7 separate regions of the Homo sapiens genome follow, and all the other regions are linked to region 1. Evidence: promoter capture Hi-C in 16 types of primary human blood cells and fetal thymus (Javierre and others, 2016). All regions are on one chromosome and are shown on one strand. The core of a region is centred on a gene start or on the middle of the fragment in contact, and the rest is flanking DNA. Distances in the headings are between cores, read along the strand shown.

Region 1 (3,966 bases), core at 1,053-3,552:
ATACCTGGAGGTGCCGCAGCCTCTCCTGCAGCTCTAGCAGCTCCAGCAGCAAGTCCAGGTCCAGGATTCCGCTGAAGTTCTTGGGCCCCAGCAGCAGAGAGTCATACCTGTAGCTGGACCGGTTAGGAGCCGTCAGGATCACCTGGTTGGTTCGGAAGAAGGGGCCGAAATGCTGGTCATGGAAAGCTTTCTCACTCCGGGCTTGGCTGTTGGGGGCCGACCACAGCTCCACGGGGTCCGTAGTGAGTTCTGTAAAGACCAGGCCCGCTGCCAAGGCCACCACCGGGATGACAGATAGCACCAAGATGGTCAGAGGCCACGAAGCCACCCACGTGCCCCAGCCCTGGAAGAACTGGCCAAGGAGGGTGTGGGTGGAGAAGCTGAGCTTGTCAGAGAGGCTGGTGCCCTTCTTGGGGTCCACCATCTTGCTTTTGTCCCTGGCGGGGGCCACACGGAATCCCACAAGCAGGATGGTGACCACAGCGAAGACAGAGCAGAGGATGATGATGAGGACCAGACTGCCCGGCATCTGGCCCAGGTAGAAGGTGGAGTCGAGGGCCTGGGGGCGGGCTATGGCAGGACAGGATGCAGCACAGTCTTGGCAGGAGCAGGTCGCCACGTCGTCACCTTGGGACTCATTGCAACGTGCAACCCCCTCATTCAGAGGCTGAATCCCACTCCCCACGGCCTGGCCAGGCTCCAAGAGGTGGAAGGTGATGTCCAGTGGGGCCAGACCATTGCCTGTGTCTCCCTGGAAGTTGAGCCAGCGCTGGGCATTGCAAAGGGCAGAGCCATACACGCCACACATGGTGCCCACAGCCAGCGTGGCAGCTGCAGGGACGCGCACACGGCTGCAGGAGTCATAGCTCTGCTCGGCAAAGCTATGCTGGTAGAAGGCCTCATAGGCCACCACAGCTGGGAGTTGTCCAGCCCCTAGCTGGGCCACGCGGGTCACATTGATGAAGAGGCTCTGATTGGGGCTGCACGTGTTGTGGCAGTGCAGGTTCACAAAATTGTCAGAGCAGGCTGGGCAGCGGGTGAGGAGGGCCTTGGTGATCGACAGACTCGCTTCCAGTGATACCAGCTGCTTGGCGGAGCAGCAGGCTTGGGTGTTGGGGCCGGTGTAGAGGCGGGGGCAGATCTTCTGTAATAGGATCAGGTGATCACCTGTGATCTTGCGGGCCGGCGTGTTGGACAGGCAGGACACGTTGGAGAGTGTCATGAGGCTTCCAGACAGCTCTGGGTTCTTCCCACATTCGTCATAGAAGGCGCAGTAGCCAGGCTGGTGGATGGTTGTGTAAGGCTCACTCTGGGCCTGCAGAGCACAGCAACATCACGCGTGGGCCCTGACACAGCTGGGTGCCATCCAGGCAGCAGGCAGCCAGGGAGGGTGTGAGGGTAAGAAGGACATGGAGCAGGGGCAGGGAAGCGGGGAGTGTGGGGAGTAGGAAGCCTCCTGGAGGCATGTGCCAGCCAGCCAGTGTTGGAGTGACAACACTGGCCTTTCTTCCTGGGGGTGGCCTGATAGACCTGCAGCTTAGGAAAGTCATGCTGGAGAGGCCAGAGATGGGTAAGGAGGCAAAGCTGACTCCAAGGTCCCGGGCTCTGCCCACGTCAAAGTCAGCCTGAGTCCCCACACTGTACACCACATCCAGAGGCCAGGGTCTCTCATGGAGAGTCTGTTCAGGAGGCCCCCCGACTCCCACCACCACTACCACCACCTGCTTGAGGCCAAAAGCTGTCACCCACCTCCCAGACACAAAGTAAGCGAGGAACTTAAGAGGTGCCAGCGCTGGATCTTCTCCCAGCCTCCAGAGTGCTCAGTCCTCCCTAGGTGATGCTCACCAGGTAACCCCATCCCAGCACCTCCTTGCCTCAGACCTCCCTCAACTGCAGGCCTGGACCCCACAGTAGGGCCAGTGACAGGAGGGACTTGGAGCACCCCAGTCCAGCAGCCTCTTTCACCCCTGTGTGCATTCAAGCCTGTAACCTGGAAACCCTCCACCTGCACCCCTCCTCTGTGGGGCCTGGCATCCCTCATGTGTCCAGAGACTTGCCCAGCCCGCAGGCCCTGAGGCTCCCTTGCTGTCACCCAGTAACGCTCGCCTGGTACACGGCTGGCCCCAGGGTCCCTAACTGGAGGCCGCAGGGGAGGTGGAGCCAAGCCCTGGGACTCACCAAGCGCAGGAGCAGGGCCCACAGCAGCCAGCCCCTCAGGCCGGCCTCCGCCATCCCAGGTCTGGGAAGGGGTCAGCGGGGAGCCAGGCCAGGCCTCAGGAACAGCCAAGGGCTGAACACACATTAAGGCAGCCTCCTCCCCTTCGATGACAACCCTGGCCTGACTGGGTTAGGGACCAATGAGGCTGAGCCCTGCTGGTTAATGATCCACCACTCCCACTGTTTGGCCCCAGTCCACAGGCCCCCGCTTTAGATGAGCCTCATCACGCAGGTGCTAGGGTCTCCACTCACTTCCCAAAGCGACCGAAGCCAGAGGGCTGAGTCAGCTAGGGGAGAGACCACGCTATTAGCCCCTAACACTGCTGGAGTTGGTGCCAGGGCCTGGAGGCACAGATGGGACCAGGCACTGGCTGGGACCCGGCCTCAGGAGCTCAGCATGGCCGAGGAACCTCCGCACCCTCCCTGGCTCAGCCTCAGACCCCAGCTCTGCCCTACCCCCTCTTGGGACCAGGGCCAGCAATGGGCTCAGAGGAACCCTCTGCACTGTCATCCCTAGCAACTGTTGTTAATTAATATTAACAGCCTGATAACGGAGGGGCAGGCAGGGTGGAGTGACGCAGTGACAAAAGTCCCCTCCTCCAGGAAGCAAAGGGAAAGAACAGCTCACTCTAGGGCCTGACAGTTGACAGAGACCCCAGATAGTGGAAGACTCTCCTTTGCTCACTTTGCTCTTCATCCCCTCTTCCCCCCGACCTTCTCCCTCTTGTCCCTTGCCCAGGCCTGTCCCACCGGTCACCCCTAGCAAGGGACAGAGCATGGCTGGGAGCCTTGAGCAGCAGCCCTGCTCCACCTGGGCCCAGGGGTGTGGTACACACTTTCTGCTCCCTCCTGATAGGAATCTTCAAGGCCTACCTTGGGTTCTCACTATCACCAGGATGGGCCATGACCTTTACCCCCATTTGGTAATGGGCCCCCATTACCAAAGCTGAGCTGCAGATAAGGGCAGCTTGTTGGGAACATCTCCTGCGTGGCCACCTACTGGAGACAGCTGCAGGAAGGGACCTGTCTCTAGTGTTCTGTGGACCCCTGCCTGATTCACAGGGGAGCCACCCAGCCTCATGCAGGAGAAGACAGAGGCTGAGAGGAAGGGGGCCAAGGCAGGGTCAGGCTGACCCCTAAGTTCTCAAGACAGCCATAGTGGAGAGGAAGACAGTCAGCAGCCAAGGACCTGCCCCTGTGAGTGACAGCTCCATCCAGCACCTTCCCAGCACTGCTCCCAAGTCCCTGGCCGGCAGAGGCGGACACCCCACCACCCATGAAGCTGCCTCTCTAGGTCCTCTGTTCCCGGTGTTGTCATCTAGTTCCTCCAGAAACAGATCCTGAAACAAGGATCCCAGTGCAAAGAGTTTATTGGGGAGATGACCCCAGATGACAGCAGTCGGTGAATGGGGAATGAGCCAGGGGATGGAAGAAAGCTGACCAGAATGCATCCAAGAGCTTGCTCCTGCCCCCAGGGACCTCCGGGAACTGGTGGGGACGTGCCCAAGAAGGTCCCCTCCAAGGAATAAGGACACAGACAGCTTTCCACCACATTCATCTGTCACTGGTAGAGGACATTCCTGGAAGATTTCGCCCCAGCACGTGGCGGGCACCTTCAGTGTCAAAGGGCCTTAGGCAGGGCCGTGGGCACTTGCGACAAGAAGACACTGTCGGCATGCACAGAGCTGTGTCAGAACAAAGATATGAAAGGCCCACCCTGCCTTTCATATGTTTCTTCCCATGGGGGCT
Region 2 (3,966 bases), core at 525-3,024, 480 kb before region 1:
TGGGGAGTCAGAGTGAAATCCCTCATATTCACCACCAAAAGTGCGTCCCCTTTCCCCAAACCAGGCTGTGGGAGGGTCATGGGGCTGCATGAAGTCTCCGGAAGGGAGAGGAGGCAGGTGGTCCTTCCCTCTGCCTGGCCCCAGTGCCAGGTGCCAGGTGTCCGTGTTTGGAGCGGGCAGGCTTGGGGCTGGCTGGGTCTCCGGGGCCTGCCGGTCTGGGTGCTCTGGCCAACTGCCCAACGGCCCTAGGAGCAGGAGGTCTGGGGCACACCCTTCTAGCCTTTCCAGGACTCAACAAGCTTTAAGGTCATTCAGATGCTAATTTAGACTGCCCTTGTGTCAGAATACTAAGGTGGGAGGCGGAGCGGAGGTGCCAGTCACTCTGGGCGAGGCCTTACTGCGCCCATGCATCCCGGGCCCATTTGTCAGCCCTTGCTCTTCAGTGGGAGCCCAGCTGCAAGCCCAGAGTCTGGCCACTCCATAGTCCTGCACCCCTCTTTTGATTGGTCTTTCCTTTGCCCAGAGAGGGGCTCCAGAGGGAGATAGGTGGTGAAGCTCATGCAGGGATTCTGAGGACCTGATGGGGGAGGGCCCTGCGAGGGGTCCAAGCCTACATCAAGAGGAATTCAGTACCAGGGGGAGCTCCCCACCACCCCGGAAAAGGGAGAGGCCCAGAGATGGAGGTGGCTTGTCCAGGGCCCCACAGTAAGTTGGGATTTGGAGCCAGATGCTCTAAGCCCAGCCCTTCCGTTTCCTAGCTGGGTGTCCCTTGGCAGATGCCACCTTTGGAGCCTGCCCCACCTCGGGACACAGCGAGCTTCGAGTGCAGTCAGCCCCTGTGGAGTGTGTCCCAGTTACACAGAAATGGGGAAAATTTCACAAAACTAAAAAATGGCTTCTCAGCCCTCCTTTTTCAGTGAATGATGTGGAGCCCCACGCCTAGAAAGCCTGGTCCATGGGCGAGAGACTTTGCTGAGATGAGAAGCCAGCTGGGGCTGCTGCCCACCCACCCTGCCCAGGCTCCTGAAGGTGGCCTCACCTTCCAGGTGCTTGACAATGCCCCGCAGGCTGTTCCCGTGGGCTGCAATGAGCACTCGCTTGCCGGCCTTGATCTGGGGAACAATCTCCTCGTTCCAGAAGGGCAGGGCCCGGGCAATGGTGTCCTTGAGGCTCTCGCAGGTGGGGAGTTCCCCGGGCTTCAGGCCTGCGTACCGACGCTCCTGGGGGACACAGGCACGCTGCTTTCCCTCCCAAGCCAGTGGGCCCCCACCCGACTCCCCACTCTGCAGCTTCCCAGAGGCCTTCCCAGCAAAGGCAGCCCACCTTGCTAATGGAGTTGTAGTAGGGGTGCTTCTCGTCCATCGGGGGCGGCGGGATGTCGAAGGAGCGCCTCCAGATCTTCACCTGCTCCTCCCCGTGCTTGGCGGCCGTTTCTGCCTTGTTGAGGCCTGTGAGGCCCCCGTAATGCCGCTCATTGAGGCGCCAAGTGCGCACCACAGGCAGCCACATCTGGTCCGTGCCGTCCAGGATGGCCCAGAGGGTGCGGATGGCCCGCTTCAGCACTGACGTGTAGCAGATGTCAAACTCCATCTTGGCATCCTTGATGGCCTTGGCTCCCCGCTTGGCCTCCTCGGTCCCCTTTTCACTCAGCTCTGCATCGAACCAGCCACAGAAACGGTTCTCCTGGTTCCATGTGCTCTCGCCGTGCCGGACCATCACGAGGCGGTGAGTGGCCATGGTGGCAGCAGGGACCACAGAGGACTCTGGACGGGGACGGCTGCTTCCCAACACTCCCAGCTTTATAATAGTGTCTTCCCAGCCCCCACCCACCCCAGCCAACTGCCAATCAGCATTCCAGGCGGTGGCAGGTGACCAGTAGCTGAGCTGCTGGGGGCTGGGGGCCAGGGGAGTGTGCAGGCCAAGAGGCTGTGCTTAAAATAGCCCCACGCATCCACCAGCTCCTGGCCTGGGTTCAGGTGGCATGTCTATAACCAGCTGGCACCCAGAGCCCAGACTGAGTGGGGCTGCTGGTCAGGGATGGGCGTGAAGGGCAGAAGTCTGGGCCAGGGGAGATGGGGATAGCAGGGACAGAGGGGCTCTCCAGGGCAACGCTCAGTGGCCTATCAGCCATTCTCTGCTCAGACAGAGGCACAAACAAAATCCCAACCCCTTTCTCCTGTGATTGGCAGCCAGGCTAGGAGGCGGCCCTCAGCAGGCAGAGGAGGAGAGCCAGAGGAGCTGGTGCAGACCACAGCTTTGTGGAGAGGAGTCTGGCCTTGTGGAAGGTACCAGGCAGCAGCAGCAGAATGGGCAAGGGCTGGGGCTGAGCCGGGTTTCCAGGACAAAGGGGGAAAGGGCCCCTGTCTTTCCTCCGGGGTCCCTTTGTCAAGGTCTCATCCATACATGCCCCATGCTCCCACCCTATCTGCCCTCACCCAAGCCACGCTCACTCTCCTAGCCGAAACCACCTTGAAAAAGAGAAATCCAAGGGGGTTTGGGGGCAGGACTGAGGACTGTCAGAAGTCTTGATTGTTAGGTAAATGCTCAGCTTAGCAGGAACCCACAACGTAGGCTGAAGGGTGGCACGGAGTTGAGTCTAGGACCAAGACTTCTGCATTCAGGTTTGGGGGATGAGAGCCACCAAGGCAGGGAAGAGACTATGAGCAATAAAGTCACAATTGGGGCCCTAATGAAGGGGCCATGGCCAGACCCTTGGGCATGGGCCCCATCCAGGGCCTCCCATTTCCTCCCACCCCAGTGACCACACTGTCACCTGCGACACTTCTGATAACAGGAGCGGGTAGGTGAGAGGCCAGCAGAGGGACCACCACTCTGAGACTTGGATCTGAGTGTGCAAGAAACCCTCGACAGGCCTCCCTCCATCCCTGCTGGCCTACCTGGGGAGGGGCTCCTGGCTTGGGGCCTGTGAAGCTAAGGCTCTGTACCCAAAGGTTGGCAGACAAGTCCCAGTGGGCAAAGTCCTGTCGGCTGCCAGGACCCCCAAGGCTGGCAGGTGGAACCCATCCCTCCTAGCAGTGCCATGCGCAGGTCTCACTGTTCCACACTGATCCTGATTGAAGCCACATCTCCTCATCTGCTTTTGTCCCTTTGACCAAGAGTTGATTCACTAGCCCAACTAAACATGACTGAGGACCAGGCTCTGGCAGTCCCACAGGGGCCAGACATGAAGCCCATATTTCAGTGGAGGAGGGATCGTACCAGCAGCTAAACATGCCTACCGTAGATAGCACCAGATGCTAGGAAGGAAGGACCATAATGTACTGGGAGAGATGGGAAAGGAGAGGCCGGGGACAGCCCTGAGGTGACATGTGAGTGGAAAGAGCGGAGTGCAAAGGCCTCAGCTATGATGAGTCCTACAGGGAGAGCAATTCAGGTAGAGGGGTTGGCAAAGACCCAAGCCCTACAGAAAGCAAACAAGCTGGGGCAGCGACCATCAGGGGCACATGGCAGAGAGGTGGGCTTTGTGTCCCAACACAGTGGGAATCACTGGAGACTTTGAAGCATGGTCATATTTTCAAGTCACTTGCAGCTGTGTAGGAGTGGAAGTAGAAGCTGAGTACCCTGCAGGTCTCGGCAGCTTTGATGAGAACAAGGCCGCTTAGCCAGGGCTGGGTGCAGAAGCAGTGGCAAGGATCCCCCAGACCTGGGAGACCTCACTGCCAACCAAGCAGGAGGTGTCAAAAAGGAAAGGGGAGCCCAAAGAAGGGCTGGACTTCGGGGAAGCAAGCCCCTGCTTCTGACCCTTGGCTCCGGCTTGACTTTCCTTTGATTCATTTGACAAGTAGTTGCTGGCCTCTGCAGTGTGCCAGAGCTTTCTTGGAGGGGTACAGGGGTAGGAAAACCAAAAGCCACCCTCAGGGCCTCCATCCAGGAAGGCATAGCATGGTGGGCGGCGAGGAAGGCTGCTGAGTCAACAAGGTGGTCCCAGGAAGGTGGAGGGAGCAT
Region 3 (3,966 bases), core at 1-2,500, 460 kb before region 1:
CTGCCTGCCACATACTTGTTTGGCTCTTGGGCAAGCCACGTGTCTATACTTTGATTTCCTCTTCTGTAAAGCAGAGATAACATATCCACCCTGTGGGGTTGTTGTACAAAGATAGTGCCTTGTACACTCTAAGCTGCTATCATCCTCTCCTGAGTGGGTCTGGCGCACTACTGATCCCTGGTAATGTTAAAAAATCAAACACAACTGTGGGGGAATACTAGCCCCAGGTTCGTTTGCTCTCTCAACCTCCAAACTAGGGGGCACCCCCAGCTCCCTTACTCTGGGTGTTGTCTCTGTAGCCGCCATTTTTTCTTCTCTTGGTTCCCTTCCTACAAGAGCTTCTCAGTCGTGTTATTTACTCAGGCCTGAGGACAGAGGAGCCTGCGGGCTCCGGGCCTCTTGAGAAGTCAGTCTCGCTCACAGGTGGGACATAGCCCAGGCAGAAGGGCTGTTAGCAAATACGACTTTTTTTTTTTTTTTTTTTGAGACAGAGTCTCACTCTGTCGCCCAGGCTGGAGTGCAGTGGCGCGATCTCGGCTCACTGCAAGCTCCGCCTCCCAGGTTCATGCCATTCTCCTGCCTCAGCCTCCCGAGTAGCTGGGACTACAGGTGCCCGCCACCACCTCCGGTTAATTTTTTGTATTTTTAGTAGAGACGGGGTTTCACCGTGTTAGCCAGGATGGTCTCGATCTCCTGACCTCGTGATCTGCCCGCCTCGGCCTCCCAAAGTGCTGGGATTACAGGCGTGAGCCACCGCGCCCGGCCTACTGCTTATTAATTACCCCTGACCTCTGGTTTTGATTCTCGCAGTGATCCTTTAAAACACGCCTCGCCCTAATTAATAGCACCCTTTACAGAAGAGGAGATGGAGGCTCAGGGAAAGGTCACAAGACCACGAAGTGCCACTGCAAACTTAGAATCCAAAACCAGAAGTGCCATGGAAGCCCTCGCCGCGCCGCGCCGCCCCGCACCTGCAGGCGTCAAGGACGCGGAAGCCTTTGGAGCGCGCCAGGCCTGTGAGGAAGGCCCGGCGGCTGCGACCCATGCGAGGCTCGACCAGGTAGATGGCGACTCCCGGGAAGCGCGTCGAGGGCGGCGTGGAGGAAGCGGCATCGCCGCTAGGGGACCCGACCCGCGCTCGCCGCCGTTTGGGGAGCATTGGGACGACAGCCTCCAGCAGCGCGGAGCGAACGCAGAGGGAAACTCCGAGCGAGACGGAAGGAAGCCCCAGTGAGGCTGACGGAAGCGGGTGGGCGGGCGGGCGGCCGCCGGCTGGAAGAGGACGTGGCCCCGCCCTATGCAAATGAGGCCTCTCCGTGGGGCTCGCTACTTGGGCCAGTCGGAGCGCTGGGGAGGGTCCGGGCTCCTACAGGATTGGGTGTCCCGGCCGCTCCGGAAGACCCGCCTCCATGCAAATAACGGCAGAGGACCCGCCTTTTATTTAAATTAATGTCTCGGAAAGCGCTGTTCGGCCCCATTGGCCTCCGGGAGGAGAGGCTGGGCTGGAGCGGGGCGGGGAGGGTGTTGGAGGGGGTGGAGGAGGCGGGGTCAAGGGGGCGTCCCCGGCTAGGGAGGGTGAACTGGGACCTAGGCCCGGGCGGAGCGGGGTGGGCTGTGTCCTTGGCGCCGGGGCTGGGTCTAGGGTTGAGCCGGCGGCTCGGGGCGGACGCGTGCGGGCTGTGCCCGATCCCTCTGCGCTCGGGACTGTCACACGGAAGCCGGCGGGCGCAGGACCGACACGCGGGTTTCCAATGCGCTGGTGGGGCGGTCGCTTCAAACACGCGGGAAGATTTTTCAGTCGAATGGCATTAGGACAACTGGCAGGCCATTTGGAAAAATAGAAGTTGGTGCCCTTCCTCATTCCTTAACACCAAAATAAATTCCAGATGGGTCAAACATTTCCATCTAAAAAGGAAACCAACAACGTACTGGAAAAAAGTCGGTGAATGTTTTTATGATCTAAATATCACAATAAACTTGGAAACACTAAAGGAAAAGAATGATAAACTGGACTACAGACAAATTTTAAATCTGATTAAAAATTAGAGTCAGAAGATAAACTGGGATAAAGTGTGAGATATTTTGGAATTAAGATTATCTCATGATAATCTTATCAAATTGTCCATAGATAAAAAGACAATAATTTAATAGAAAAATTAGCAAAAAAACTCACGTAGATGATTCTTAGAAGAAATCCTGGTCAATAAATTTATGACCAGAGTGCCCAACCTGTCCAGTCGTTACAGAATACCTAAATGAGAATATCTTCAGTTGTGGGTTTATCAAACATTCAAAAAAATTGACCACACATGTTGAAGGTGCGAGGTAATTGGCAATCCATAGGAAGGACTGTGGAAGCCAATGTGGCAACCACATCCAACAAAATGAAAACAAAATAATACACATTGATCCAGCAATTCCTTTCCCAAGATTGGGATTGCATTGAATCTATAGATCAAGCTGGGGAAATCTGATGTCTTGATAATATCAAGTCTTCTGTCTATCTTATTTAGATATACTCCATTTGTAACCTCTGTTACGGTAGTGTGGCACTGCTCAGCCTAACTGATGGGACACCAGATCAGATGCAACCCCCTTCCACATGCCTCTCCTCATCACTGCCCCATCGTCCTCAGTCTTGAGCCCCAGACTCCTTGAGCACCTATCCTTTTTCTTTGGCTCCTCTCTGACATCTTTAGTGGGCTGGCTCTTCCCCATCTCTGCACTCAGAGCACAGGGCTGAGGGGAGTGGGGGAGATGGCTCAGCCCAGGCATCCTCTTGACCTCCTACACCATCTCCCAGCCTCCTAATTCATCTACCTCTTCAGGGCTGTAGAGCTTCCTGGGCCTCAGGACCCACATACAGAAGCCAGGAGGCCTGCGTATGGTCCCTCTCTCCCCATCCTCCCCTTGTGCCAGCAGGGATGGGCAGGCTCTAAGGGTCTTCGTCTGTGGATCTGGCTCCTACCCTTCTCAAGGAGGAGGCTCTGCCCAAATATCCCCTGAGCAGATCCCTCTAGCTGTCTAAAACCATTTCTGTTCCTTTTAATGTCCTCTGTCTGGCCAGAGCACCTGGGCTCCCCTTGGAGCCCTTGTTCTCTCCTGGGAAGGCAGAGGCAGTTTTTAAGACTATGAGACCTGAATACTTAAAACACTGGGCAACTGTGCAAAAATGTTTGTGCAAGGAATCTCATCCAAATGACAGTGGAAGAAACTGCCTAGCTTAGAAATCAGCCAGGCCCTCTGAGTGGTTGCTGCAAAGTGTCTGCTAGGACAACATGGGGCTGAAGGATTCATGAAGATTGGCCAGTGGGGGCAAGAAGGGGTGAGGAGGTGGGGAGAGAGAGGGACTTGCCTGCTCTGCAGGACGAAGATGTGCCCTATACCCAGGGAGAGGTGGCCTGCCGTGGAGGTGAAACCACCTTTGCAGAATTGTAAGTCATGAGAGAAATCTAACATGACTGCCTCCCTCTTGCATCTAACCTCACAGACTAAATTGGTTTTCTTATTTCTTTTTTTTTCTTCTTCTTCTTGTAGTGCAGAGGCCAACATAACTATGAGAGGAATTTAGTTCATAGTTAAAGGCAAGAAAAACTGACCCCCTCCTTGTTTGGAGATTGAAACCACATTCATAAGACAAGGTTAGAATTGTGGTGGGGCCTGAACTTTGCTAAAGAATGGGCATAAACAGCGACCTGCCGTTTCTCACTTGGCTTGCTTTTCTATAATGCTTACTGCCCTGGAGTCACATAGCCGGAAATCTCAAGATTTCTAACTTCTCCAGCTGCTCATATAGAGGCCGGGCACAGTGGCTCACACCTGTAATTCCAGCACTTTCGGAGGCCAAGGCGGGTGGATCACTGGAGGTCAGGAGTTCGAGACCAGCCTGGCCAACATGGTGAAACTCTATCTCCCTAAAAATACAAAAAAATTAGCTGGGAGTGGTGACACATGCCTGTAATCCCA
Region 4 (3,966 bases), core at 422-2,921, 400 kb after region 1:
TGTCCCTCATGCAACCTCACAGAACAGAGTCAGGGTCACAGCACTGTCATGGCTGCACCATGACCTGGCAGTCATTCTGAGAATTGTGGGTGACCACAGGAACATGCAGCAGCCTTTTATTTCAAATAAGCTCCAATAAGCTCATTGCTTGGAAAGAGTAAACTGTGGGGTCTGCAGCTTAGAGGAGACATTCTGGGCTCCTTCACTCACTGTCAGAGAGCAGGCTATCTGGGAGCATCGAGTTTGATTGCTTTTTGTAGTCTAATTTTTTTTTTTGAGATGAGGACTCGCTCTTGTTCCCCAGGCTGGAGTGCAATGGTGCAATCTCAGCTCACTGCAAACTCTGCCTCCTGGGTTCAAGTGATTCTTCTGCCTCAGCCTCCTGAGTAGCTGGGATTACAGGCGTAAGACACTGTGCCTGGCCCTAATGTTTTATTATATTTTAGTATTCAGTGATTTTACTGAAATCTATCATAGTTTAAAAGTTTTGTGAGCGTCATCTCTTAACAGACAACTGTCTTGCAAATAGAAAAATAAATAAATGTAAAAAAAAATTACTGAATTGATTCTTTGAATAGCCAAGGAAACTTTGTGGTTGTGTTATAAAATTACATGTGACAAAATAAGTTGAAATTCTGAAGGCTGTTTTCTCTGGGCTGGTGCTTGGCAGTCTCCCCAGCACATTCATGAATGCCATGTCAATACTCCAGGCTGTCTCCATATTTTAGAAATTCCAAAATCGATTTGAGATTTGTAACTACATTCTATAAGAAGGCTCCTGTGAGAGTAGAGTCAAAGAAAAGACTTTCTAGAAGCTTGAGAATAATGCCCTTCTCCCAGCCCTCCCCTGCACACCTGTCCCATGAAGTCAGGAGGGTGAGACTTACAGGCATTGATCATCTGGAGACTTCTGAAGGCAGGAGCAGGGTAAGAATCGAGGCAGAGTGCAAAGAGAATGGGAAGTACTGTTCCCTAGAGACAAGGACTTACTCCGATTTGAGTCTTGCATTTCTCACTGGGCACAGGAGAGGCCCTGGTGTTTCTCTGGCCTAAAATGATGGAGCATAGGGTGTAGCCAGTGGAGCAGAGGACCTGCTGCCCCATGGAGGGCCTCCAGGCTGAGCAAAGGGCTCCCCAAACAGAAAAGAGGTGGAGGCACACACGTCTCAAGGGGCCCATGGGCCGTGGCTGCTCTATTCTGGTGAAGGGCGTCCTCCACATGAGAGAGGTCAGCCCCCCAAATAAAACTGTGCATGGTCACATAGCAAGCCCCCTGCCAGCTGAGACTGCTGCATCTCCCACCCTCTAACAGCGTCAGTGACAGATGGGGCACAACTGGGCAGGAACCAGAATCATCCCCTCTTCAGCCACAACATTGCTGGGCCCCAGGTGGATGAGAGACCCTGAGGGGGTAAGACATTGGAAAAAAGATAGAGGGGATGAGATGGCATATCACCCCTCACAGACACATGCACATTAACTCTTCTCCAAGACACAAGTCTGAGCTGAACGGCAGTGGGAGCAGAAGTGGGGACCTCTGAATAAGTATAAAAGTGGATTTTCTTAATTGTCTGGATTAGTGAAAATGACCAAAAAGCAATGGCCATGACTTATAGATATGTGTGTTCCCATTACCTAATGATACCATCTGCTATAAATTTCTTAGCAGGTATTGTACCAATAAAAGCATTATTAGAAGCCATTAGAACAATGACTAAAATAATTATGGTATCAATCCTAGGACTGAGTGAGTTGGGCAGCCTACCAGGGTCTTATCTACACTGTAAAAACAAAACCTCTTACCCTGCTCTGAGTTACTAAAATGGAAACTGGAGACTTCTTTCTCCACTCCTGAATCTGAGCCACGTCACAAAGTGGGACCCATTGAAGAAAGGTGACCCTGGGGCATGTCCACAGAAATGGGCTGTGACTCTCTCTCCTAGGTGTTTCCAGAGGTGCTTGCAAGACAGCTGTGCTCTGGGGAAAGGGGAATGAGCAAAGACCCAGAGAAACCTCTGTGGACCACAAATCAGAGAGGAGCAGGTGGAGGTTGAGGAAGGTGGTGCTGTAGTGGGCCCAGTGTTCTGCAAACCCACCTTCGGTAATTTCCCAAATTGTTCATAGATGTCAGGAATAGACATACTTAGTTACTTGCCAGAAACTCTGCATTAGGGGCCGATGAGCTAGAGCTCTTCAGCTAAACTGGTTATATGTATGTAACATCTGTATCTATGTTGCTATATATGTCTATATGATCATATATACATGTTGCACGTATATATTTGTGCATGTACATTCATGTGACAAAAGAAATAGAAAGATCAATTTGACCTTTTGAAGACACAAAATTTAAAAATACAATGCATTTGTTGGAAAGAATCTAGTATATAAGAAATGTGTAATGTTCAGGGGAATTAATCAACACAAGCTGTGGTTTGTGTCACGTTTTAAACTTAATGATATCTGTAGACCCAATGGATGGCAGAAATAGAAATGAGTATTGTCCATATTTAATGATGAGGAACTTGAAGCTTTCCCACTAAGATCAGGAACAAAGCAAGGATGTTCCCTCTCACCACTCTTTTTCAACATTGTACTGGGCAACCTGGCTAATGCAATAAGATAAGGAAAGAAAACAAAAGGTATACAGGGTGACTTTTTTTTTTTGAGCGTCTTGCTGTGTCACCCAGGCTGGAGTGCAGTGGTGTGATCCCAGCTCACCACAACCTCTGGCTCGCGGATTCAAGCGATTCTCCTGCCTAAGTCTCCCAAGTAGCTGGGACCACAGGTGCCCACCACCATGCCCTGCTAATTTTTTTTTGTATTTTTAGTAGAGATGGGGTTTCACTATGTTGGCCAGGCTGGTCTTGAACTCCTGATCTCGTGATCCATCCACCTCAGCCTCTCAAAGTCCTGGGAATTACAGGCATGAGCCACCGTGCCCAGCCAGGATGACTTTTTAAAAAAGAAATAAGGCCGGGTGCAATGGCTCACGCCTGTAATCCCAGCAATTTGGGAGGCCAAGGTGAGCAGATCACCTGAGGTGAGGAGTTCAAGACCAGCCTGGCCAACATGGTGAAACCCCATCTCTATTAAAAACACAAAAATGAGCCAGGCGTGGTGGCGGGCGCCTGTAATCTCAGCTACTCCAGAGGCTGAGGTGGGAGGATCGCCTAAACCTGGCAGGTGGAGGTTGTAGTGAGCTGAGATTGTGCCACTGCACTCCAGCCTGGGCAACAGAGCAAGACTCCATCTCAAAATAAATAAATAATAAAAACTAAAAAAGAGATAAAACTTTTTAAAGATGGCATGATTGTCTATGTAGTGAATAACAAAAACAAAAACAAAACCTCCTGAAGCTAATAAACAATTATAGCAAGGTTGTAGGATACCAGGTTAATCTATAAAAGTCAAATTGCTTTGTTATATACCAGTAATGAACAATTGAATTTTTTAAGAGACAGGGTCTTACTTTGTTGTTGCCCAGGCTGGAATGCAGTGGTGTGATCATAGCTCACTGTCACCTCAAACTCCCTGGCTCAACCAGTCCTCCCCTCAGTCTCCCAAGTAGCTAGGACTACAGGTGGATGCCACCATGCCCAACTAAGTTTTAATTTTTTCTGTAGAGACAGGGTCTCGCTATTTGCCCAGGCTGATCTTGAACTCCTGGCCTCAAGCAAGCATCCCAACTAGGCCTTCCAAAGCACTGGGATTACAGGTGTGAGCCACTGCACTTGGCCTGAAATTTTAAATTAAAAAGACAGCATTCATATTAGCACCAAAAAAAAGGGGGGGGGGAGGGGAAATAGGTATAAATCTAAGAAATATGTACAAGTTCTATATGAGAAAAACCATATAACTCTGATGAAAGAAATCAAAGAACTAGATAAATGGAGAGATACCCCATGTTCATGGACAGAAAGAGTCACTATTGTCAGGATGTCAGTCCTTCCCAATTAGATCTAT
Region 5 (3,966 bases), core at 484-2,983, 400 kb before region 1:
ACTGCGGGGGAGTGACTGCACAGGGAAGGTGGGTACGGAGGCTCCCATGGCGCAGGGAAGGGTTGGCTGCACCCCAAAGAGCAGTGTAAGGCCCCGAAGCACAGGCAGCCCCCCTCACTAGGGGCCTCACCCCGCTCTCTGCTTCCACCACGGTGCTCCTCATCTGGCTGGGCCCATACTTACTCATCCTTGTTCACCACCCCTTTGCCGCTGGGGTCAAACATGCGGAAGGCACTCAGGATGGCTTCCTCGGGGTCTGTCCCTGGAAGGCCGAGGCAGCCAGGTGAGCATCCATGTCTCCAGCATCCCAGGTCCCCCGCAGGAGGAACTGGGCTGCATGAGGAGCCTCCCACATCCCAGAAGAGGTGGGGGTATTCCCTAACATAAAATGTTTCTCGGGGATCAGTGGGGCTGGGAATGGTCATCCTCCTGAGGCGGGCAGCTTGGCTGGGAGACTGGAATTTGGGGGTGGGGGCTGAAGGCACATTTCCTGGCTCCAAGTCAGCACTGGGGTGACCAGTGCACATGGGATTCTGGGGCAGAGGATGTGCTTGGAATGGGTCATGGCCAGGAAGAGTCCAGGTGGGTCCAGGTGGGGTTCAGTTAGGGTTCAGGTGGGGTTCATGTAAGGTTCAGGTGGGGTTCAGGCAGGGTTCAGGTGGGGTTCAGGCAGGGTGCAGGCTCCCTGCCTGGCCAAGGGTGCCCAGCTCTGTCCCAGGCTCACCATTGAGCTTCTCCCCAAAGAGCGTGAGGAAGACGGTGAAGTTGATGGGGCCCTTGCCCTCTTGCAGCATGGCGTCCAGCTCCTCCTCTGGGACACTCACCTTCCCTGGTGGGGGTGGGGCATGAGGTGCACACAGGGACCCTGGGTGTCCCCCAGAAGGCCCAGGCCGCCCTCCCTCCATCCTGGCCACAGGGGCTGGAGGGGCAGAGGCAGCTGTGGGTCGGGAAGGTGAAGTGGAAGCAAGGCGTGACAAGGGGGGAAGGGCAGTGTGAGGAGACGGGGAGGAGGGGAAGCAGGGGAGCAGAGTCCTGTCCCCCCAGCCACTCCCACCCGCCCAGCAGCTCAGAGTAGGGACCCCAGTGCGCAGGGTGGGAGGTGGGTGCACGCACCCAGCTGGGAGTAGGTCTCCCTCAGGTCTGCCTTGCAGATGATGCCATCACGATTCTGGTCGATACAGCTGAAGGCCTGTGGGATGGGGGCCTTCAGGTGGGAGCAGCCCCCAGCTCTAGGGAAGGTGGGAGGTGGGGGAGAGACCTGGGTGGTGTGAGAGGCAAGGTCAGGGTAGAAGGGGGGTATGTATGTGGGGTGGGGTGGGGGGGCCAGGATGGGATCTGAGGCTACTGGGAGTGGGCACTCACTTCTTTGAACTCCTGTATCTGGGCTTGTTCAAACATGGAAAAGACGTTGGAAGAACCACGTTGGGCCTGCTTGGTGGCTGCCACCTTGCCCCGGGTCCCCGCCTTCCTGCTGGCCTGCAACACTGTGAGTAGGGAGGGGTCCTCTCCCCAACTCCTCAGAGTCTCCCCACCCCACCCATCATGCACAGTCCCAGAGCATTCCCAGGAGAGCCAGGGCCAGGATCCTCTTCCTCTCCCTGGGGACCACCCTCAACCCAACACAAGCACAGAAAACTCTGCTCCCCCAGCCCAAAGGCCAGCACCTGGGAGACCGCTAGCCTTTCTTCCCCAGCAGGCACTCACCATTCTCTCTGCAGAGGTGTGGCTGCTGTCGTGGTGGCAGGGCCCAGCCTCCTTTATGTCTCAGCCTTATCACCTGAAGGTCCAAATAAGGAGAGGAACAGAGGATAGGCCCAAACTTGGCAGCCCCCGCCTGGGCTGGGGGAGGCCTAACAGATTCCAGCCACATTCCTGATGACCTTCATGTCCTCAACGTGTAACATCCTGCTGTCTATCCATCCTGGCAGGGCCAGACACAATGTCTGCCTGGAGCAGAGCAGGCTCAAAGCTCTCACCACCCTAGGTCCTGATGAAGGGATCCAGTTACTCCTGTATCTGACCACCCCTCCTTGCCAGTCCAGCCAGAACCCTGGCCAGTGCAAGAAGACAGCTGGTGAGGGCCAGTCCAGGGCCCCCGCCAGGCATGGGAGGGCAGTGTGTAGTTCTGAGGATGGTCTGTGGCCTGAGACCCCCGGGGCTTCCCAGAGGTTTTGGTGACCCTAGGCTCTGACCTTTTGCCCCTCTGACCAAGGGGCAGAAGGCATCCCTGAGCTAGCTGTGACCCCAAGAAGAACACTTTGCTTGGCTTTGGGGCAATTCCAGAGGGTTAAGGAGCTCCATCAGCTGCCCTCCCATGCAGTCTACCTTGCTCCCAGTCTGCCCTGCTGTTTGGAGCCTTGCCTTCCTCAAGCCTCATCTCAACCACACTACTTCAGAATGCTCTCCCTAACATCCTCAGCAGGGAGCTTCTGGGGCACATTTCCCATTTGCCTGGTGGCTGATGTGTTTGTCATTCCTGGCTTCTGTGCCCCTCCTGAGCACCCCACCTGGTTGACATCTGTATCCCCAGAAGGCCTGGTGCACAGTGGGCCGATGGGCAGGCCTGCGTGATGCTGTTCCAGAGAAGCAGTCTCGCCAGCTTCTGGGGCCGAGGGCACAGCAGAGGGGCTGGGGAAACAGGGGACATCCTGGAGGCAGCAGGAGTGGGCCACCCCAGGCTGGGCTCACTGGCTGCTGCCCCTCCACTGGAGCCAGACCTATGTCTGTCAGTAGCTGGCTGGTAGAGTGCAGGAGCTCTTATCTGTCAGACCCAATACCCTTTTTATATAACAAGAGTTTTCTTTTAAATTTCTTAAATTCCCTTTTTTTTTTTTGAGACAGAGTCTCACTCTCGCACAGGCTGGAGTGCAGTGGCGCGATCTCAGCTCACTGCCACCTCTGCCTCCCGGGTTCAAGCCATTCTTGTTCCTCAGCCTCCCAAGCAGCTGGGATTATAGGCATGTGCCACCACACCCAGCTAATTTTTATATATATTTTTTATTTTATTTTATTTTTAGTAAAGACGGGGTTTTATCATGTTGGCCAGCCGGTCTCGAACTCCTGATCTTAGGTGATCTGCCTGCTTCAGCCTCCCAAAGTGCTAGGATTACAGGTGTAAGCCACTGAGCTCTGTCACCCAGGCTGGAGTGCAGTGGCATGAGTAGAGCTCACTGCAGACAACCTCCTGGGCTCAAGTGCTCCTTCCTGCCTCAGCCTCTGGAGTAGTTGGGACTACAGGTGCACACCACCCTGCCCAGTGTTTTTTTTTTCTTTTTTTAATTAATTAATTCATTTTTGAGACAGAGTTTCGCTCTGTTGCCCAGGCTGGAGTGCAGTGGTGCAATCTCTGCTCACTGCAACCTCCGCCTCCTGGGTTCAAGCAATTCTTCTGCCTCAGCCTCCTGAGTAGCTGGGATTATAAGCACCCGCCATCATGCCCGGCTAATTTTTGTATTTTTAGTAGAGTTGGGGTTTCACCATGTTGGCCAGGCTGATCTCGAACTCCTGACCTTTTGATCCACCTGCTTTGGCTTCCCAAAGTGCTGGGATTACAGGCATGAGCCACCGCGCCCAGCAGTGCCCCCCCGCCCCACCCTTTTTTTTTTAAGAGATGGGGTCTTGCTATGTTGCCCCAGGCTGGTCTCAAATTCCTGGCCTCAAGCAATCCTCCACCTCAGCCTCTCAAAGCACTGAGATTATAGGCATGAGCCATCACACTGGCCCATAACAAGTGTTTTATGACACCTCCTTTGTTATCTAGAAAAGAAATTCATTTTATCTATTTCAATTCAGTCATATAACCTACCTACGAATAGAATTTTAATAATTAATACAATGTCCTGAACTGTAATATAAAGGAGAAATAGAAAGCAATTGATATTAAAATGTGTTCCACTCTGTGAATGCTTGAGCATAACAGTAATGATAACAAAATAATCAGATGCTTGCACCAACTTATAAGGAATA
Region 6 (3,966 bases), core at 1,063-3,562, 380 kb before region 1:
GGCCTGGGAAGAAGAGGTTCCATCTGACCTGGGAGTTGGGTTGTGGGAGTTGGGATCTTGGTCTGGGCATGTTAACACATCTGCCAGCCAAGGGGCGATTTGTTCCAAGTAGCAGTTGGCCATGTGAGGCCCGAGTTCAGAGGAGAGTCTGGCTGGAGAGGTAGATGTGGAGCCATCAGTACAGAGACAGTCCTTAAGGCCACTGGCCTGGACATGGTCACCAGGGTGTACAGGTTGGATAGCAGTGGGAGAGGCGGAGCTGGTCAGGCAGGGCTGCCAGGGGCAGGATGCTGTCCCTTTTATGCAGTGAGCAGTGCTTTGTGACCCCACCTCCAGAACGCAGTAAAAAAGGCAGGATGCCTTCTAGTGCCGCCTTTGGCAGATGTGGACTGAGGAACTGTCTATTCCAGCACTGGGAGGGGCCGGCTGGTGGAGCTGTGGGTCCCTGAGGAAATGGCCAAGGGCCAGGGCAGTCCCTGGGCAGATGCTGCAGGCCTGGGGGCTCCAGAGCCCATCCGAGTGCCAGATGTCCAGCTGTAGCCTGGCCCCCTCCATTCCTGGGCCCTCAGGTGGCTATGTACACAGAAGTGAGTGGCCTTGGGCTAGTGCCCACATTCTCCTGAGGGACAGAATCCCTGATCCACCAACCCCTGGAAATGCCATGCAGAGCCCCCAGAGAGCCAGACAGCCCTGGGCAGCCAGCCAGCTCCCCCCATAAAAGCCCCAGGCCAGGCCCCGGACACTGGTGTCCTGGGTCACCGTTAGCTCCAGGAATAAGTACCCTAGAACCCCTCGAGAGGCTGGACACTGGATAGCCACAGTGAGGAGGGGTGGTGGGCAGAGGGCCAGTGGCAGGCACAGCTGCCCTAGCCAGGACCCCCAAGGCCCATGTGCCTCCTTCCAAGGTGCCCCAAGCCTGCTCGCCTTCCCTGCCCCCAGCCTTAGTTTTGGTAATCTGCAAAACCAAGGGCCCTGCCCTGGGTGCTGCTCTCCCAGTGCAAAGTCCCTAACTTTGGTGTGACCCTTACCAGAGTCAAGGCTGTCTGGGCCTGGCTCCTTGTGACATCCATCGCCATCTCTCCGAGGGGCTAAGAGGTAGATGCTTTGGGAGGCAGAGATGCTCCTGCCTGCTGAGGCCTAGCACATGCTGTAGCCTTGGAGCGTAAGGCCCGCCTGTGGCAGCAACGGCTGCTTGGATGGAGAGCTGCCTGAGGCTGGCAGCCCAGGGCTTCTGCACTGAAAGGGCTCAGCCTGGCGGCTGCTCAAATACTCTGCCCCCTGCCATGGGGTCAGAGGCAGGGCAGAAAGGGAGGGTAGGCCATGTGGGTAACAGTTGACAGGGCCACGGGGACAGAGCCATGGGGCAGCCGGCCACACTCTGTGAACATGGGGTAGGGATTGCTGCCCAGCAGGAGGGGGTGTGCAGAGCCAGCCTACCCATCTTCCATTCCTCAGCCTTGTGCGGGCAGAAAGTCACCAGGCTGCCTTGGCCACAGAACACTTACTGAAATGCCCTTGGACAGGGAGGGGGTCCTAAGGGGGCCTGGCCCGCGCTGGTGCAGGTCTGGACTTGCTCTTGGAGGCAAGGGGATCCCCAGTGGATTTTCATCTGCAGAGAGGTTCGATTTGCATTTCATACAATCCAGGGGTCTGTATGGAACTTGGGGAAGGGGTGGTGGAGGAAGGTGGCCAACTGATCAAAAACAAACAAAAAACAGGGGTATCATTCTTAATTTTGTGACTGCAAAGTCCAGGCCTCAGGCTTGCTTTGGGTGCCTCCATGGGCATAGACCATGACTTCCAGGCTCTGGCCCAGGCCTCTCCTTGGGCTCACCTGGGAGTGACATCCACATGCTATGTACTTGCTGGCACCTGCCAAAGCCTGCTAAAATTAGCTGGAGCTGGCAAGTGGGTCAGGGTATGGAGGGTGCCTTGTCAGAATGCCAGGTCTCTCGCCAATGGCCAGAGTGATCACTCCCAAGAAAGCCCTTGATACAATTGATCCCTTTCCCAATATAGAGCAGAGATGGCCTCATCAGATCTCATGTGACAGGCCACTGACCCCCACAGCCCCCAGCTCTGAGCTACTGTTTGCTCATGGGGGCAGGGCTCACACCCAGGTTTGGAGTGGCACTGGGGCCTTCTGGTTCAGCCAGGCCAAGAAGCAGCCACCCAGCGAGACTTGCCCTTCTTCTGGGCCAAGCACACAGCACAGGGGAGGAGAATCTAAATTCAGTTCTCAAGAAAGGCTGAGGATGTGTACAAAGCCTGAAGCTGAGGCAAGTGGGCCCCCTTTCTTGGTTGACTGAACTGCCAGTGCCCTCTCTAGCCTCTATTTAGAGCAACAGGCATCCCCTAGAGTTCCTTTCTGGGAGCCACCTGCTGATATTCATTGGCATCCATGAGGCCAGAAAGCGGCCCAACACCCCTACTTCCCCACACCGTCTAATTCTCCGGGACCAGATTCTCATGACTCATGCCAGCCCTCCTGGGCACCCACCCTTGTCCTGTCTCAGTGCCTCTTCTTCAGGATAAGGGGTGACACCAACAGTCTGTACTGCACTGGAGTTGAGAGTCATTGTAGCAGGAACAGTTCCTGCTTTCCAGGAATTTTGGAAGGGCAAGACTGTCCAGAACCTGTCCAGAGAAGAGGGGCCAAGAAGGGGAGGGCCTCAGAGATGATGGCTCATGGAGGATGACCAGGACATGCTTAGAGTCTTCAGTAGCTCAAGGGCTGTCCCGAGGAGGATGGATGAACATTGTTTCTGCTTAGAGCTTTCTAAAAAGACAGAACTGTGCAGCTGTGGGCTAGGATGTCTCAGTAGATAGTGAACTCCCCATTTCATGGGGAGAGAAAGACAAGAGCAGAATCAGAAGGGACCTTGCTCTATGTCCCAGTGGTACCCCCATTTCTTAGTTGCTCAGGGTTCTGATTGACAGACATGACTTGATTTTCTTTTTCATTCATCAAAAGAAAATAATATGACAAGTTTGGTGATGGATATTCAAGATGATTAATTCTACTATCAAAAAACGAGACACAACCCACATACCCAACTACAGGAGGTTGGTTAAATAAATTATGCTACACTTACATGTAGTCATTAAAAATGGTAAGATTCATCTGCTCTATTGGCATGGAAAGATGTTCATGACATACTGTTGAAAGGGAATGTGTAGCCGCCCTTGAAGCTGGCCTTCAATTAGCCCTGCTTCTGGTATTCACCCCATGGTATAGTCTCTTCCATGCAGAATAGGTCTAGCCTGTGTAACTAATATGATAATGCAGAAATGGTGGAGTATGACTTTGGAGCCTAAGCCAGAAAAGACCCTGTGGTTTCTGCCTTGTTCTCTCCTGGACTGTTCCCTCTGGGGGAAGCCAACTGCTATGCTATGAGGTTGCCTACAAGAACTCTGGGAAGATCCATTGAGAAGAAGCGAAGTCTCTTGCCAATACGCAACTCCAACTTGCCAGCCATGTGAGTGGACCACTTTGGAAGCAGCTCCTCTGGCCCCAGTCAAGCCTTCAGGTGATGCAGCCCCAGCCAAAACCCTGACCTCAGGAGAGACACCAAGCCAGACCACCCAGCTAAGCTGCTTCTGAATTCTTGACCTACAGAAACTGTGTGAGATAACAAAGGTTTGTTGTTTCAAGCTACTATGGTTTTTTTTAAAAACACTTTATGAAATAAAATTTTGTTATTACAGAACAAATAAGTTTAGAAACCATTTTCTATCTTTTAGCATATGATCCAGATATAAGACAGTGTCATACCACATTCTTGTCATCATAATACACGGAAAGGTGAAGCCACTAAGTTTTGAGGCAGTTTGTTATACAGCAATAGATGACTAACACAGGGGAAGAACAGGAAACATAGTATGATCCATTTTTGTCGTATATACGATATAGATAATATATGTATTGGGAGGAAATATACCAAAATGGTGACAGTAATTATCTTG
Region 7 (3,966 bases), core at 567-3,066, 350 kb before region 1:
TGTATTTAATCATCCATGTTAACCCAAAGTTTGTATGTATCCAGCTCGGGGTTCCTTGATCCTCTCCAATCTGTGCCAGTTACTTTGCTTCTCTTTTCTTAAGAGTCGAAGAAAGTCCTGGGCTTTGCTCTGATTGGATGGCCTACTGATGGCCAGCTGAGTGGCCTGTTGATTGGCTGAAGCTTGCATCAGGTGCCTATCCAAAGACCAATCGCTGTGGCAATAAGGACCACTGGTTGATAGGCTGGGGCCTGGGGCCCCATGTGGCAGGGTGTGGGATCAGCCTCTAGTTCATGATGGTTTCCCTGTGAGTACTTTCCCTGTGTGCTCATTGCTGTTGTTTATTAGGTTGTGTTTGGTGTGCCCAGCCTTTCCAAGGGCACACCTTGTGTTCTTGGCCTTCCTCTGCATCCTTCTTTCTGCTCTCATGTGGGGCCTACAGCCCCGAGGATGTGGGAGGTGCACGCCTGGTTGTGGAGCAGGGGACTCCTCTGCAGGCCTTTCCACCTGCCCCTCTTTGACAGCTCTGTAGACTTCCTCTCGCTTTTTGTACGGGGCAACCCCACGACTATCAGGGTACCATTGACAGGACAAGCCACTTGCCTAAATGACCATGTGTCCTAATTCTAAGTTCCTGGCATTCATCCAGTATGGCTACTGATAACTGATATGGTTTGGATATGTGTCCCCACCAAATCTCATCTGAATTGTAATCCCCAATATTGGAGGTGGGGCCTGGTGGGAGGTGTCTGAGTCATGGGGGTGGATCCCTCATGAATGGCTTGGGCCATCCCCTTGGTGATGAGTCAGCTCTTGCTCTGAGTTCACACGAGATCTGGTTGTTTAAAAGTGTGGCACCTCCCAGTGCCTCTCTCTCTCTCACTCCTGCTTCCACTGTGTGATGTGCCTGCTTCCCCTTTGCCTTCCGCCATGACTGTAAGTTTCCTGAGGCCTCCTCAAAGGCTGAGCAGATGCCAGCACCATGCCTCTTGCAAAGCCAGCAGAACTGTGAACCAATGAAACCTCTTTTCTTTATAAATTACCTGGTCTCAGGTATTTCTTTATAGCAATGCAAGAATGGCCTAACACAGCTACATATCCATCTCTAGCCCCTCAGCTGCAGAGGGGTGTCTTAGGACAAATACAGCTTCTGGGAAGCCCCTGCTGGGGCACAGCCTCAAAATCAGGGCACCTGCCTCCTGTCTTCCTTGGCTGTAATCCCTTCCTGCCCACGTATACTCCTGTCCTGTTCCTCCCTTGCTCTGACATCCCCTATTGCTTCGTAGCCAGTGGCAGAGCTCAAACCTTTGGTGGCAGACTCTGTCTGTCTTCCCTGGGGCCTGGAGAACCCAGAGGGAGCCCAGGATGCCTTGGTGTGGGGTTGCAGTGGGGAGCAGTGTTCCTGAGGGCTAGGTGTGCTGACAGACCCTGATTGATGACATCAAGTCTGTGCACCTGAGGCTTGGTGACCTACTCAGGCCATGGAGGCCTGACCACATTGGTGGCCCCTTTCCACACCCTTTTCCTATATGAGCTGTGGAGGCAGCTCAGCTGCCATGGCCTTAGCTGACTGAATGAGGAGGTGTGGGGGCAAGGGCCATTGTGTGGCTGGGCTCCCCACCTGGACTGGGCTTCCTGGGGGTATGCTCCTTGATAGGCTTTTGTCCAGCTCCCCAAAGGTTCTGCTGTACAGCAAGGGCTGGCACCTTATGTGAGCTAGGCAAGGCTGCAAAGGCGGGTGGGTACTTGTTTTGCTCAATGGGGCAAACTTAACAGGGCCTGGGCCATTTATCGTGGACAGCGTTAACTCCAGTTCTGTCTGCAGAGAGGCTTTTCTTCTAGGTCCCAGCACCTCAGGTGGGAGCCTGGACTAGAGAACTCTGCTACCCACACTCCTGTGCGGGCTTCGTTCATAGCCTTACTGCCCATTTCCTGCATTTTCCATTCCCACAATGTTGTACTTGCAGAACAGGTGCAAGAACAATACAAGCATGAGAATCGCTTGAACCTGGGAGGCAGAGGTTGCAGTGAGCGGGATCACACCATTGCACTCCTGCCTGGGCAACAGAGCAAGACCCTGTCACAAAGCAAAACAAACAAACAGATACGCTTCATCCTGATTCCTGTATTTGCTTTATCATTCTCTTTCTCTCTGTCTCTCTCTCTCTCTGTCTCTCTCTCTCTCTCACACACACACACACACACACACACACACACCCTGTAAGAGTAAGTTGCAGACACAATGTCCCTTTACTTCTAAATTCTTGTGTATATTTCCTATAAACAAAGACTTCTCTTATATAACCATGGCACAGTGATGGAAAGCAGGAAATTAAAATAGATACAATACTATTATCTAATCTAGAGGCCTTACTTGGGTTTTAGCCTATCTTCAAATCTCTACTTCCCATAGATGCCTTCCACCCTCTATGATTAATAATCCTTTTCTTCATTAATGAGAAGACAAATAATTATCACTGTTACCTGTTAAACATCAACAATGACTAGAGCTTGTAATATAATGTTTTATTATTTCCAACAACATTCCTATGGAAAGAATATTTTTCTAGTTTTATAGATAAAAACAAAAGGAGACTCAGGGAGGTAATGGTTTGCTCACTTTTGTGATTTTGTGATGTGTCAGTGCTGGGACTGAATCCAAGTTGGGTGACAGCTGGGGCGATGCAGCAGAAGGCAGGTCTTGCTTTTTGGTAACACAGTGAGCTTGGGAAGTCTGCAACCACATGACTATGAATGAGGCTTCCTGGAACAGTAGAGGCTGAGTGAGGCCAGAGAGGAGCAGGAAGAGTTGCCAGGAGTGGGCTGCATGACAGTTTGTTAAGCATTTCACTGTTGACATCTGAACCCCAACTCTGTCCCTTACCAACCATCTCCTTAAATTGAATCTCAGTCTCTATGTCTGTAGGGTGGCAATAATATTTTCCCCTGTTTTTGTGAGGATTAAATGATGTGGCACATGGAAAGTACTTGGCATAAGGTAAACTTTGGGACAGCCACTATAATGTGTCAAGTGGATACACTGAAATTTATTCCATCCAAGCGCTGTCTTCCTGATCTTTTTGCACAACTTTCAGTGGAAGGAAGAGGGGCTCCAGAGACTTTCCTCAGAAATGGCTCTCACCTGCCTCCTATAGGGAAATGGTGTCAGTGCAAGCAGTTGAGCCTGGACTGATAGCACCCAGCAACCCAGCTTGTCAGACTACTGTGTCCATATCTGTGGGTGGCTGAGCCTAGCCACGGCCAATGGCTGTTCCTAATGTTTACTACCAAAACAGGGGAAATGTGGAAAAGCCCTTTCCACCCTCTGTACTTGGAAACACCCAGGGAAGAGGGTTGGTGACAGAGGTACTGAGTGAGTGGGCAGGTGGTGGGAACTTCCTTTCACCACAGATTATTTAAAGCAATGTTTCTCAGCTGGGCGCAGTGGCTTAAGCTTGTAATCCCAGCAATTTGGGAGGTCGAGGTGGGTGGATCACATGAGGCCAGGAGTTTCAGACCAGCCTGGCCAACATGGTGAAATCCCATCTCTATTAAAAATACAAAAATTAGCCGCGTGTATGGATGCATTCCTGTAATCCCAGCTACTCGGGAGGCTGAGGCATGAGAATCGCTTGAACCTGGGAGGCAGAGGTTGCAGTGAGTGGGATCACACCATTGCACTTCTGCCTGGGCAACAGAGTAAGACCCTGTCACAAAGCAAAACAAACAAACAAACATATATATCTGCAAAGCAATGTTTCTCAAAACTACTGCTCCCAAAGGACATTTTGACGTTTTTGATTGTGCAGTGGGGAGGGGGTGGGTTGGTACTGACATTTCTACAAAGGCCTGAGATGCTGCCTACACAATGTACAGGGCAGTCTCCCAACAAGAAAGAACTATCTAACCCAAAATGTCAATAGTGCCAAGGTTGAGAAACCTTGATTTAGAGTAATGTTTAAAGTG

Evidence for each region. Contacts are between HindIII fragments. The CHiCAGO score rates a contact against its expected background, and 5 or more counts as called.
Region 2: the fragment with the promoter of PGAM2 here is called in contact with the fragment with the promoter of NPC1L1 in region 1 in 8 of 17 cell types (M0 macrophages, erythroblasts, M1 macrophages and 5 more); the score reaches 7.8 in M0 macrophages.
Region 3: the fragment with the promoter of POLM here is called in contact with the fragment with the promoter of NPC1L1 in region 1 in 3 of 17 cell types (M2 macrophages, M1 macrophages and M0 macrophages); the score reaches 7.1 in M2 macrophages.
Region 4: a fragment that was not itself captured here is called in contact with the fragment with the promoter of NPC1L1 in region 1 in 5 of 17 cell types (non-activated CD4 T cells, total B cells, monocytes and 2 more); the score reaches 7.9 in non-activated CD4 T cells.
Region 5: the fragment with the promoter of MYL7 here is called in contact with the fragment with the promoter of NPC1L1 in region 1 in 3 of 17 cell types (M2 macrophages, erythroblasts and total B cells); the score reaches 8.0 in M2 macrophages.
Region 6: a fragment that was not itself captured here is called in contact with the fragment with the promoter of NPC1L1 in region 1 in 7 of 17 cell types (M1 macrophages, M2 macrophages, total CD4 T cells and 4 more); the score reaches 8.3 in M1 macrophages.
Region 7: a fragment that was not itself captured here is called in contact with the fragment with the promoter of NPC1L1 in region 1 in 3 of 17 cell types (M1 macrophages, M0 macrophages and M2 macrophages); the score reaches 8.4 in M1 macrophages.

Annotation. Positions count from the first base shown.
Region 1 is chr7:44,539,028-44,542,993 of GRCh38, forward strand. It overlaps NPC1L1 (NPC1 like intracellular cholesterol transporter 1), which reads right to left and starts at 2,303. Exons shown (of 19, transcript NM_001101648.2): 1 at 2,179-2,303; 2 at 1-1,315. The coding sequence starts at 2,232. RefSeq lists an enhancer at 975-1,596. The HindIII fragment of the contact is 6,836 bases long and covers 185-3,966 here.
Region 2 is chr7:44,063,793-44,067,758 of GRCh38, forward strand. It overlaps PGAM2 (phosphoglycerate mutase 2), which reads right to left and starts at 1,775. Exons shown (of 3, transcript NM_000290.4): 1 at 1,324-1,775; 2 at 1,040-1,220. The coding sequence starts at 1,737. It overlaps DBNL (drebrin like), which reads left to right. Exons shown (of 13, transcript NM_001014436.3): 13 at 1-3,966. RefSeq lists enhancers at 358-467, 1,112-1,171, 1,362-1,411, 1,472-1,541 and a silencer at 2,722-2,791. The HindIII fragment of the contact is 4,752 bases long and covers 298-3,966 here.
Region 3 is chr7:44,081,280-44,085,245 of GRCh38, forward strand. POLM (DNA polymerase mu) reads right to left here and starts at 1,251. Exons shown (of 11, transcript NM_013284.4): 1 at 972-1,251. The coding sequence starts at 1,159. RefSeq lists an enhancer at 1,025-1,525 and a silencer at 1,237-1,816. The HindIII fragment of the contact is 8,170 bases long and covers 1-3,966 here.
Region 4 is chr7:44,936,453-44,940,418 of GRCh38, forward strand. No RefSeq gene overlaps it. Among named protein-coding and RNA genes, the nearest start is that of MYO1G, 41 kb to the right of the region's middle. The HindIII fragment of the contact is 1,716 bases long and covers 814-2,529 here.
Region 5 is chr7:44,139,599-44,143,564 of GRCh38, forward strand. It overlaps MYL7 (myosin light chain 7), which reads right to left and starts at 1,734. Exons shown (of 7, transcript NM_021223.3): 1 at 1,705-1,734; 2 at 1,363-1,476; 3 at 1,114-1,189; 4 at 725-829; 5 at 184-262. The coding sequence starts at 1,707. It also overlaps a transcript of GCK not described here. RefSeq lists an enhancer at 546-1,388. The HindIII fragment of the contact is 19,152 bases long and covers 1-3,966 here.
Region 6 is chr7:44,158,045-44,162,010 of GRCh38, forward strand. All of the region lies in intron 1 of GCK (glucokinase), which reads right to left. Among named protein-coding and RNA genes, the nearest start is that of MYL7, 19 kb to the left of the region's middle. The HindIII fragment of the contact is 6,327 bases long and covers 1-3,966 here.
Region 7 is chr7:44,193,403-44,197,368 of GRCh38, forward strand. No RefSeq gene overlaps it. Among named protein-coding and RNA genes, the nearest start is that of YKT6, 5.6 kb to the right of the region's middle. The HindIII fragment of the contact is 3,272 bases long and covers 181-3,452 here.